2 separate regions of the Homo sapiens genome follow, and region 2 is linked to region 1. Evidence: promoter capture Hi-C in human tissues and cell types (Jung and others, 2019). All regions are on one chromosome and are shown on one strand. The core of a region is centred on a gene start or on the middle of the fragment in contact, and the rest is flanking DNA. Distances in the headings are between cores, read along the strand shown.

The links. Contacts are between HindIII fragments. The study calls those that stand out against the background at their distance.
Region 2: a contact is called between a fragment that was not itself captured here and the fragment with the promoter of IFT140 in region 1, in 1 of the 25 tissues and cell types used here (dorsolateral prefrontal cortex).

What each region holds. Positions count from the first base shown.
Region 1 is chr16:1,610,816-1,616,333 of GRCh38, forward strand. IFT140 (intraflagellar transport 140) reads right to left here and starts at 1,257. Exons shown (of 31, transcript NM_014714.4): 1 at 1,153-1,257; 2 at 1-38. It overlaps CRAMP1 (cramped chromatin regulator 1), which reads left to right and starts at 1,545. Exons shown (of 21, transcript NM_020825.4): 1 at 1,545-1,842; 2 at 3,824-4,170. The coding sequence starts at 3,825. RefSeq lists enhancers at 992-1,051, 1,440-1,940, 1,941-2,441 and silencers at 1,202-1,731, 1,752-1,871, 1,902-2,061. The HindIII fragment of the contact is 16,182 bases long and covers 1-5,518 here.
Region 2 is chr16:1,370,760-1,376,424 of GRCh38, forward strand. UNKL (unk like zinc finger) reads right to left here. Exons shown (of 15, transcript NM_001372107.1): 11 at 760-852. It also overlaps the pseudogene TJP1P1. Among named protein-coding and RNA genes, the nearest start is that of GNPTG, 22 kb to the left of the region's middle. RefSeq lists an enhancer at 4,413-4,912. The HindIII fragment of the contact is 5,493 bases long and covers 1-5,427 here.

The sequences.
Region 1 (5,518 bases), core at 7-2,506:
CTCCGAGGCCCGAGCGTCGGGGGCCAGGTTATTCCGCTCTGCAAGAGAGAAGCGGGACGAGCTTTTTCTAGGAGAGACGGCGGCGCAGGGCCGGCGTCTGGGTCCCCTTTGTGTGGAGGGCGCGCTGTCACAGCCCCGATCAACCGCGGCATCCTCCCCTCCTGGGCGTGTTCCCTTCCCGTGCATCCCGAGGCGGAGCCTTTCCAGCACGCGGCGGTCTCGGCCCAGGCCTTCCCTGGGCTCCGCTTTTCTAGTTTCGGAGCGGAGGGCGTGGGTCAAGCGTTTCTGGGAAAGTCGATGCGCTCGGCAGTGTCCTGAGGTGTTGGGTGACTGAGGGCCTGTTCCATCGCCGGGCCCCGGACTCCACAGAGCCAAGCGAGGCAGGGAGCGCCCCCAAGAAAGCAGCTGGCGGCCGGACGCGGGGCTCGCGCTTGGGCTTCCAGCTCTTGGGGGCTGGGGCGGGCGGATCGTTGGAGCCCAGGAGTTCGAGACCAGCCTTGGCAACAAGGCGAGATCCTGTCTCTAAAAAATTACAAAAATTAGCCGGGCGCGGTGGCGCCTCTAGTCTCGGCTACAGGAGGCTGAGGGAGGAGAATCGCCTGAGCCCCGGGAGGCGGAGACTGCAGCGAGCCGAGATCGGGCCACTGCACTCCAGCCTGGGCGACAGAGCGAGTCAAAAAAAAAAAAAAAGAAAAGAAAAAGAAACACTGGAATTTGAGCCGGGCGCGGTGGCTCACGCCTGCAAACCCAGTACTTTGGGAGGCTGAGACGAGCGGATCACTTGAGGTCAGGAGTTCGAGACTAGCTTGGCCAACATGGTGAAACCCCGTATGTACTAAAAACACACAAATTAGCGAGTATGGTGGCGCGCGCCTGTAATTCCAACTACTCGGGAGGCTGAGGCAGGAGAATCGCTTGAACCTGGGAGGCGGAGCTTGCAGTGAGCCAAGATTGCGCCACTGCACTCCAGCCTGGGCGACAGAGCGAAACTCCGTCTCAAAAAAAAAAAAAAAGAAAGAAAGAAACACTGGAATTTGAAAAACACCCCTCTGCTTTCTTGCTATGAAGAAAATGACCAAGTGCCCAGCGCCGCTCGGCTACGCTAACGTAGCGCAGAAGCACATACTCCACCCAGGAAAGGGTGCGCTTAACTGCCTCAGACGTGCTTCCACACTTCTCAGAACTCAGGTTCGCGCCCGATTCCACACTCCGAGCTACCACGCCGTTTTCTTCTCACGTATCCGTCAACACTGCTGCGGCCAATCACAGCACGGGCCCTGGCCTATTGGCTGTCTGTCCACCAATCCAAAGAGACGCACAGTCCGCAAGGTCGCGAGGCTGGCGTCACAACACTACTGGCGCCGCGGGCTCGCCCCCGACGCCCACCGGGCTCGTACGTGCGAGCGCGCCCGCCCAGCGCTAGCCAATGGGAGCGCCGTTTTGGGGAGACGGGCCCGAAGAAACATTGGGGGTGCTCGCCCCCGCGTTCGTCGCCCCGCCCCGCGCGCCCGCGCACCCCGGCCCCGCCCCCGCGCGCCGTCCGTGAGGTCCCCACCGGCCGCCGTAGCCGGAACTGCTGCTGAGGGCGGCGGGCCGGCTTCGCTAGGGTGAGTGGCGGCAGTATCTGCGTCCGCAGCCCCCGCAGCCGCGCGCCGGCCCGCGGAGGGGACGTGCCGGGGCTAGCGCCGCTCGACCAGTCGCTTCCGAGGCGGACGACCAGCCCGGCGTTGCGGCCTCCCTGCAGCCGGCGCTCGGGGGCCGGGGCTGCCCGGCCCGGCTGGTTCTGCGGGCACCCGGGGAGGCCCCGGGAAGCCAGGCTGCCGCCCGGCGTTGATGAAAAAGGTGACCAAGGCTGGGCGGCGGGGCTGTCATGGCGAGGCCCGGCCGGGGGGTCCTGTCGGGCGGCGCGGGAGAGCGCGGGGGGGGCGTCGCTTCCACAGCGCCCGGTACAGCCACAACTGGCCTCAGGGCGAGGAGGCTTCTGCGTCCCCATCCCGAGACGCGAGCCGGTGCGGAGCGGGACGGGGCTGGAGGAGACTGCGCCTCCGAGAAAAGTCCGGTCTCGTTGGAGGTTCTCGCGAAAAGGAGGCCATCCCCCTGCTTGTTGGCCCTTAGGGTAAAGTCTGGACGGCGTCGGTCCTTTCAGTGGCGAAAAGCGCTTCCCCGTGCTCGGTCGGCGTCTTGGGTGTGGAGCCCGGCGAGCGGGCGAGTTCACTCTGGTGGCCGAGTTTGTTTTGCTTGGGTCCCGGGTGGCCTGCGGGCGGACAGGTCCCTGGGCAGCGGGGTTCTCAGCCCGAGACGAGGTCTTTGGGGGTTTAGGTTTCTTGAGTGGAAAGAGGTGGGTTGAGGGGGAAGAGTGGGAAGTCTTGCCACGAAATCCCTTAAGTTGGGGTGTTTGTCGTGGGTGGTTTTGTTCTTTGGCAGAGTTTTTTTTAAAACTAGCATGAACTCGAGATTCCCTAGACCAATTCCGACAGGAGAAAACGGCCACGGATCCTTGTGTGATCTGCACCTCAGGGTGGGGGCATCATTGCGACTTTGAAGCCATTTCCCGATCTCTCGGAAAGAGAGGTCCTCGCCCGCGTCCCTGTATTTCGTGGTTGGTGTTGGTGCCTCGATCGTGTGTTCCTTTGAAGTGGAAATGCCCCCGTTCTCAACAGTTGAGTTGAACGCAGGGTCAGTATCTGCTGAGGAATCTAATCTTCAGCGTTTTTGCTTCCTCACACGTGCCCGTCCCGGACTGTTTCTGGGCTGCAGCTCTTGCTGTGTACCTGATTGTCTGAGTTTATTTTTGAGTGGCTCTGCTTTCTGGGCTGCAGCATTTTTAGTCACTGCACTTTGTTGTTGACATTTTACAGGGCGGTGGGTAGCAAAGTTGATGCAATAATTTTATTAATTGTTGCCAAGAGTTTTAACACCATTGTCTTCTACCGCTTCTTGCACCTGGACCCGGACATAACTGGGCTGTCACTTTCCCGGGTGGTTCCAACCTGTTCCATGCAACAGGCTCCTTTGTTGCAAAAGCATTTTTAACTAGTAAATCCCCGCAGCAGCTCACATTTCCCACCCTGGGAAGAAGATTCCCAGAGACCCGGAGCTGATTATTCTTTATGTGTGTTTTAAAATAAGCAGGCGGGCCGGCGGCATTGGGCCACCATGGAGTTCCCCGTGCGGGCAGGCGAGCCCGCGCTTCTCCCGTCCCGGGGTGGATCCGGCCTCCTCTGTCCTCCTCCAGGGCCAGCTCTGGGGGCCGGCGCGTGGGGCAGGTGCGCGGGGCCCGGGAGCCCCGCGCCTTTCGGGGGGCGGGGAGGGGGTGGGACGAGGGGCTAGGGCTGGGGCTGCGGCCCGGCCGGCCGAGGCGGCGCAGGGAGCGAGGCCGGCGCGCAGGGCCAGGCCATGAGCCGCGGCCCCGCCGGGTAGGTGGCTGTGGGCGGGGCAGCGGCCCGGACCCGCAACCGTGCCCAGACCCGCGCCCGCGCCGGGGCTCCCATAGACCCCGGGGCCGGGGCCGGGGCCGGGGCCGGGCAGGGTCCGCCGAGCTGTCGCGCCCTCCCGCCGCCGGCCCGGGCGTCTGGACGCGAGCCTCGGCCAGGGGGCGTCCGGGGAGGCCCGGGAGGGTCCCGGGCTGGTGGGCAGGGCCGGGGGCGGCGGCGTGGGGGCGGCAGGGGCCGCGGCGGGCTCGGGCGGGCTCGGGCGGGCCGGGCCGAGCCGCCGAGAGGGGATTTGGAACAAACAACGGCGGCCATGTTGAGAGCGCGTCGGGGCCGCTAAACTTCCCGGCCTGCGCCCGCCTCACCGGCCGCCTCCCCTCTCCCGGCCGCAGGATGACAGTGAAGTTGGGCGACGGCGGCAGCGGGGAGGACGGGCTCAAGAAGCTGGGCAAGCGGGCGGCCGATGAGGAGTCCCTGGAAGGAGAAGGGGCCGGCGGCGCAGACGCGGCCGAGGAGAGCAGCGGCACAAAGAGGGACGAGAAGACCCCCCGGGCCGGCGCCGACGGCCCCCCCGCGCCCCCCGGCGCGCCGCAGGCGCCGTCCCCGCCGCAGGGCAGCCCCCAGGACCAGCACCACTTCCTCCGGTCCAGCGTGCGGCCGCAGAGCAAGAGGCCCAGGAAGGATCCTCCGAGCGCTGTGGGGAGCGGCAACGCCGGTGGCTCGGGGCCCCGCGGAAAAGGTAGGGCGGCCCGTCCCCTTGGGAGACCCCAGCCCCTCTCCGGGGTGTGCCGCGGGGGAGAGGAACCCCTCGCCCCAGCCGGGCTCCACCCTAGCTCACCCATCCCGCGGCCTACACTGAGGCTCTCAATTTGGGTGGCACTTATGGGGCATGTGTCCCCTCTCTCCTTCGAAGAGGCTGCGACTTTCTATATTTAAACTCTTTGAAGAGGCAGTGAGTATCCTTTTTTGGGGGGGAGTCGAAGAGATCCCTTAAAGCTGTTTCCTTTCCAAAGGATCACTGATGGTTTTCTATGGTTTTGTGTTTCAAACAGCGGACAATAGTTCGGAAACGGGAAGAGAAAAAAATACCTGCTGTATCTCTTTCCCAGACATCAGGCGGTGGAAATGCACCAAGGGAGCAGGCTTTTGAAACTCATTGGGGGGAAGATGGGTAAGAAGCGGAGAAAGGATCCTTGGGGTCTGACTTGGACCCATTGTCCTCTCCTTCAAGTGCTCCTGGGTTGAGAGTAGGAAGGGCATAGAGATGGGGCCCTTTGAGTTGCAACTGGGGTTTACTTCTGTGCCAAAGAAAGGAAAGAGTGGTGAAAACGATTGACATGAACAAGCAGCAGCTTGTAGTGTTCGCCCTTGTATTCTGAGGTGATGGAGAATGTTGCTACTTAGCTGGGGTCTCTTACCAAGATAGTAAGAAAACGGCATGTTAGTTTCGTTCTCCATGTGCCAGTGCTTCATTGTTGTCTGCTCTTATTTCTATTTCAGTCTTGTGCTTTTCCTTACGCAGGTGAATGACTCTGATTCTTTTTGTTTCCGACCATGTTCGCAGCACTTTGTATAAATAGCAAATATAACATCAGCTTCCAGTGAGTTTCACGTGAAAAAAAAATCTTTCACTTCCTTCCTTGGGAAATGCTCGTTTACATTTAGTGAATGGTCCTGGTAGTTTTGACAAGGAAATATATTACGAACTAATGGAGAACCTGCTTTGGAGATCTGTGCCACATGTGTTCCATTAAGCCCACTTCTCCTGCCGCATTCTCAACCGAAGAAGGCTGGCCTCCGGAATCATGGCCTTACTCATTGGTAAAGAATTCTGATATAAGTATACTTATTTAAAGATGTAAATAGAAGGTAACTTAGCATGTTTCAGAATTTAAAACTTGCCTCATATGAATTTATTTTGATGTGAAAGTTGCTGATCAATTTGGAAAACATGAGTGGCTTTGCTTGTTACTAGTTTTTTATTGCTAGTTACAGGTATGTCTAAGCTCATATAAGCTCCATGGTTCCTTCAAAGGTTTGTTGTTCATGGTTCAGAAGCCCTGGACCTTGAATCCAGCCGGCATTCG
Region 2 (5,665 bases), core at 1,431-3,930, 240 kb before region 1:
ATGAAAAGATGTTGTATACGATGTTAAGATACATTTGTATGGGGCCGGGCGCACTGGCTCACGCCTGTAATCCCAGCACTTTGGGAGGCCAAGGCGGGCAGATCACGGGGTCAGGAGATGGAGACCATCCTGGCTAACATGGTGAAACCCCGTCTCTATTAAAAATACAAAAAATTAGCTGGGCGTGGTGGCGGGCACCTGTAGTCCCAGCTACTCCGGAGGCTGAGGCAGGAGAATGGCGTGAACCCGGGAGGTGGAGCTTGCAGTGAGCGGAGATCGCGCCACTGCACTCCAGCCTGGGCGACAGAGCGAGGCTCTGTCTCAAAAAAAAAAAAAAAAAAAAAGATACATTTGTATGGATGTCAATCTTTTGTCTACAATGTGAATACATTTATCCTTCGGGGACCATCAAGACTTTCAGGAAAGGCCCCGCCTGTCTCTGCGCGGCCACTTTGCTGGGACAAAGGTCAACTGAAGAAGTGGGCAGGCCCGAGGCAGGAGAGATGCTGAGGAGTCCATGTGCAGGGGAGGGAAAGGGAGAGGCAGTCAGGGAGAGGAGGAGGAGGTACCGCCAGAAGGGGATCCTCCCGCTCCGAAAACCAGACACCGGGTCTTGCCCTGTGGTCCAGGCAGGAGTGCAGTGGTGCAACCTCAGCTCACTGCAGCCTTGACCTCCCCGGGCTCAAGCGATCCTCCGGCCACAGCACTTGGCTGTTCAGCGGCTGGAGGAGCAGGGCCCCAGGTCCTCCCCACCCTCACCTGCTGCTCCCAGGTCGTGGCCGTCTTGCTCTTCCAGGTCCTTCTCTAGGGATGCAATATTCACATTGCTAAGATGCAGGTCTAACGCAGAACCTGTCAACAGAGCCCCCCATCATCCACAGCCCACCCAGCGCTGCAGAGCTCAGGAAGCCTAGCTGAGGAGGACGACCGTCCCACCTGGGCTTAGAGTGAGACCAAGGGCAGAAGGCGTGGGAGTTGCTGGGGCAGCCAGGGAAGGACACCCCCAGCCCGTCCTCGCAGCCCCCCACAGGCAGTGTGAGGCTTGGCTGTTCCTCCGGCAAAACGAGCGTGCTCAGGTGGGACGCCCCGCACCACAGACCAGCAGCTGGGTCCTCGCCTCTGACACGCTGCTGCTGCCCCTCAGAGTTTAAATACCTAAGTGTGTGTTAGCATCTGTCCACGTGTGCACATTCGACTGTTTAAAAAACTTTCCAGGGCCGGGTGCGGTGGCTCACACCTGTAATCCCAGCACTTTGGGAGGCCGAGGTGGGCAGATCACAAGGTCAGGAGATCGAGACCATCCTGGCTAACACGGTGAAACCCCGTCTCAACCAAAAAAAAAAAAATACAAAAAATTAGCCAGGCGTGGTGGCGGGTGCCTGTAGTCCCAGCTACTCGGGAGGCTGAGGCGGAAGAATGGTGTGAACCCCAGAGGCGGAGCTTGCAGTGAGCCGAGATCGTGCCACTGCCCTCCAGCCTGGACGACAGAGCAAGATTCCATCTCAAAAAAAACAAAAACAAAAACAAAAAAAAAACTTTCTGTGAGGGTGATTTCAAGGAGCAGGTGTTCACGTGCAATTTCATGCCAAGCACCAAGACCTCAATTCCCAAGGCTCAAGACTGAGTGGGAAGGACCCGCCTCAGAGTGGCCTCACCCAGCCAGCCCTGCCTTCCAAGGCTGTCCCCACACATCCCTGCAGGCCGTGGGGCTGCCCTCCTGCACGGGCCCTTCCCTCCCAAGTCCCCACCCCCAACCCCGAATGGCAAGCAGGGACCCCACTGCCCCTTCCTAGAATTAGGAAGCCATCATGAGGAGGCTGAGCTCAGGCCACCAGCCCCTGAAGCCACAGCGTGTCTCAAACTCCCGCAGCCACTGCACAGAAGTTGGGTTGGGGGTGAGGGGTGACCAGAGGATCTGGGATCTGAGAGCCCACGTGCCACCTGGGGCAGACCAGAGGACCGCAGCGGCTGCAGGAGCTCTGGGATACACCCTGTGGGCCGGCGCCGCCTCCCCAGCCCAGCCCAGTGTTGTGGCCAACACCGCACAGAGACCTCAGCAGCGTGGGGCACACCGCACAGGGACTGCCGGCCTACACTGCACAGAGACCTCAGCAGCGTGGAGCACACCACACAGGGACTGCCGGCCAACACCGCACAGAGACCTCAGCAGCGTGGGGCACACCACACAGGGACTGCCGGCCAACACCGCACAGAGACCTCAGCAGCGTGGGGCACACCACACAGGGACTGCCGGCCAACACCGCAGAGACCTCAGCAGCGTGGAGCACACCACACAGGGACTGCCGGCCTACACCGCACAGAGACCTCAGCAGCATGGAACACACCACACAGGGACTGCCGGCCAACACCGCACAGAGACCTCAGCAGCATGGAACACACCGCACAGGGACTGCCGGCCAACACCGCACAGAGACCTCAGCAGCATGGAACACACCGCACAGGGACTGCCGGCCAACACCGCACAGAGACCTCAGCAGCGTGGAGCACACCGCACAGGGACTGCCGGCCAACACCGCACAGAGACCTCAGCAGCGTGGAGCACACCACACAGGGACTGCCGGCCAACACCGCACAGAGACCTCAGCAGCGTGGGGCACACCACACAGGGACTGCCGGCCAACACCGCACAGAGACCTCAGCAGCGTGGGGCACACCACACAGGGACTGCCGGCCAACACCGCACAGAGACCTCAGCAGCGTGGGGCACACCGCACAGGGACTGCCGGCCAACACCGCACAGAGACCTCAGCAGCGTGGAGCACACCGCACAGGGACTGCCGGCCAACACCGCACAGAGACCTCAGCAGCGTGGAGCACACCGCACAGGGACTGCCGGCCAACACCGCACAGAGACCTCAGCAGCGTGGAGCACACCGCACAGGGACTGCCGGCCAACACCGCACAGAGACCTCAGCAGCGTGGAGCACACCGCACAGGGACTGCCGGCCAACACCGCACAGAGACCTCAGCAGCGTGGGGCACACCGCACAGGGACTGCCGGCCTACACCGCACAGAGACCTCAGCAGCGTGGAGCACACCACACAGGGACTGCCGGCCAACACCGCACAGAGACCTCAGCAGCATGGAACACACCGCACAGGGACTGCCGGCCAACACCGCACAGAGACCTCAGCAGCGTGGAGCACACCGCACAGGGACTGCCGGCCAACACCGCACAGAGACCTCAGCAGCGTGGAGCACACCGCACAGGGACTGCCGGCCAACACCGCACAGAGACCTCAGCAGCGTGGAGCACACCGCACAGGGACTGCCGGCCAACACCGCACAGAGACCTCAGCAGCGTGGAGCACACCACACAGGGACTGCCGGCCAACACCGCACAGAGACCTCAGCAGCGTGGGGCACACCACACAGGGACTGCCGGCCAACACCGCACAGAGACCTCAGCAGCGTGGGGCACACCACACAGGGACTGTTGCGCAGGCGCCCTCCCCGCTGCCCACCTTTGGCATCCACTCTCCCATGTGCGCTGTGTGGGGTCTCTCCTGGGGGGCCCTGCCCTGTCGTCCCTGCTGGCTGCAAGTTCTTGGACCCTCACTGATGCCTGGTACTGGACAGTGTGCTGCTGAGGCCTGCTCTGAGACAGGCAAAGCCACCCCTGCCTGTCCCTGAAGGGCCCTAGACCCCCTTCCTCCTGTCCTCACCTGGGACCGATGGTCCCTCCATGGCCCCAGGCAACCGCACCCCGGGGAAACCTGTCAGACCCGACCGTGGGGGTCGGCGCGCCGGGAACCTCCACAGCCTGGCCAGCCCCTGCCTGGTGCTCGGTTCAGACAAGCTGGGGCCCAGCAGAAGCAAAGAGGCGGTCACTGCCCCACCTACCCGACATCGAGTCCCGCCCTCGCAGACCTCCTGCAGCCTCACTCCCCACAACCCACCCCACCCAGCAGGGAGCTGGCTGAGCCAGGCAGGGCTGACTCGTCAGGACTTGGTGGCCATGTCAGGGTGACAGCAGGTTCACCACACAGGGGGCATCCCAAAAAACAGCTGGAGAAACAAGGACTCGGCAGCCAAGGGGCCGCAGAGGGACAAAACCCCACTCTGCCGGGGAAGACAGCTGGGGCCTTTCCAGACATTTTCAGCATAATCAGCAGGAAAGGCAGGAGGGTGACTTCTGAAGAAGAACGCTGCCCTAGCCGCACATGAGATTTGTCGGGAACACAGCTGTGGGGCACGTGGCCTGCACCTCACCCCTCTGCCCAGGCCTCCGCTTCTCCTCCCTGGAAGCAGCTGGCACCAGTCAGCGCCACGGGGACCATGGGAGCAACCACAGGGTGGCGGGTGGCCCCTCGCCCGAGGCCTGGCGCTCGGCGGTCACACCCCCCGAGCCCCCCAGGGCAGCCGGAGTATCCTCGTGCCGCGGTGGTGGCCCCAGCGGAGCACAGGCAGAGGCTGGCGTGGACGTGGCGCAGCTGGCAGGTCCGGGCCTCTGAACTTCACCCCGAATCTGGCCGCGCTCAGCAGCCACACTGTGTGGAGACCGTGCTCCACCACCCAGAGCGGCAGGCGGGAGAGAAGCCTGGCTCGGGAGTGGACGGTGGACTCCAGAGGCCGCAAGGCAGAGGCCACCCCCACCCCACTCCACCGCACAGCACGACCCAGACTCAACCCTCGTCCACACGCCAGCCGTGAGGGAATTTCCGGGGCGTGGAGGCCGGGCTGTGGCGCCACCTGGCAACACTGTCCTTCCCCATCCCGTCACAGAGGCAGCAGGGCCCAGGGCAGAGAACCTGAACCCCTGGGGCGTCCGGGACGGCACACGGCGCATGCGGGAGTGGCCTCCACTCCCACGGAGACACCGTTCCAATGAAGCTTTTAGGGACTTTCGAAGGTCTTATCCAGAAACTAGAGTAACAGGTTGGGGGTCGGGGCAGCCAGGCCAAGACCCCCTGGGGACCAGGAACCCACAGTAGCATCCGAAAATGCCTCAGCCCTCAAGGATGCTCATCGGCGGAGCCAAAGGCAGGCCTTGGGCCAGCCGCACCCAGAGCCATTCACTCCTCTCCTTCCCATTCACAGGACGGTGGCGTCCCTGAGCGGACATCCACCCTGGCCTGCAGGGTGGGCCAGCCCTCCCGGTCGCTGTCATCCACTTGACGTTCTCAGGCCATGGCTGAAGAGGGCAAGACCTCAAAGCCTGACTGAAGTCGTGCTGAGCAGCAGAGCCGAGACACTGCAGGCAGTGGCAGAGGACCACGCACTGAGCGGCCTTGGACAGGTGGCTCCAAGGCTGAAAGTGAGATCTGTGGCGGGCAGGGCCTCTTCCCTCCTCCCTCCAGGGCTGGGGCGCTCCTCCTCCCTCACTCCAAGGCTGGGGCACGCTCCTCCCTCCTCCCTCCAGGGCTGGGGCGCTCCTCCTCCCTCAGTCCAAGGCTGGGGCATGCTCCTCCCTCCTCCCTCACTCCAAGGCTGGGGCATGCTCCTCCCTCCTCCCTCCAGGGCTGGGGCGCTCCTCCTCCCTCTCTCCAGGGCTGGGGCACGCTCCTCCTCCACTCTCCCTCCTCCCTCCAGGGCTGGGGCACTCCTCTTCCCTCCTCCCTCACTCTAGGGCTGGGGTGCTCCTCTTCCCTCCTCCCTCCAGGGCTGGGGCACTCCTCCTCCCTCCTCTGAGGGCTTGGGGAT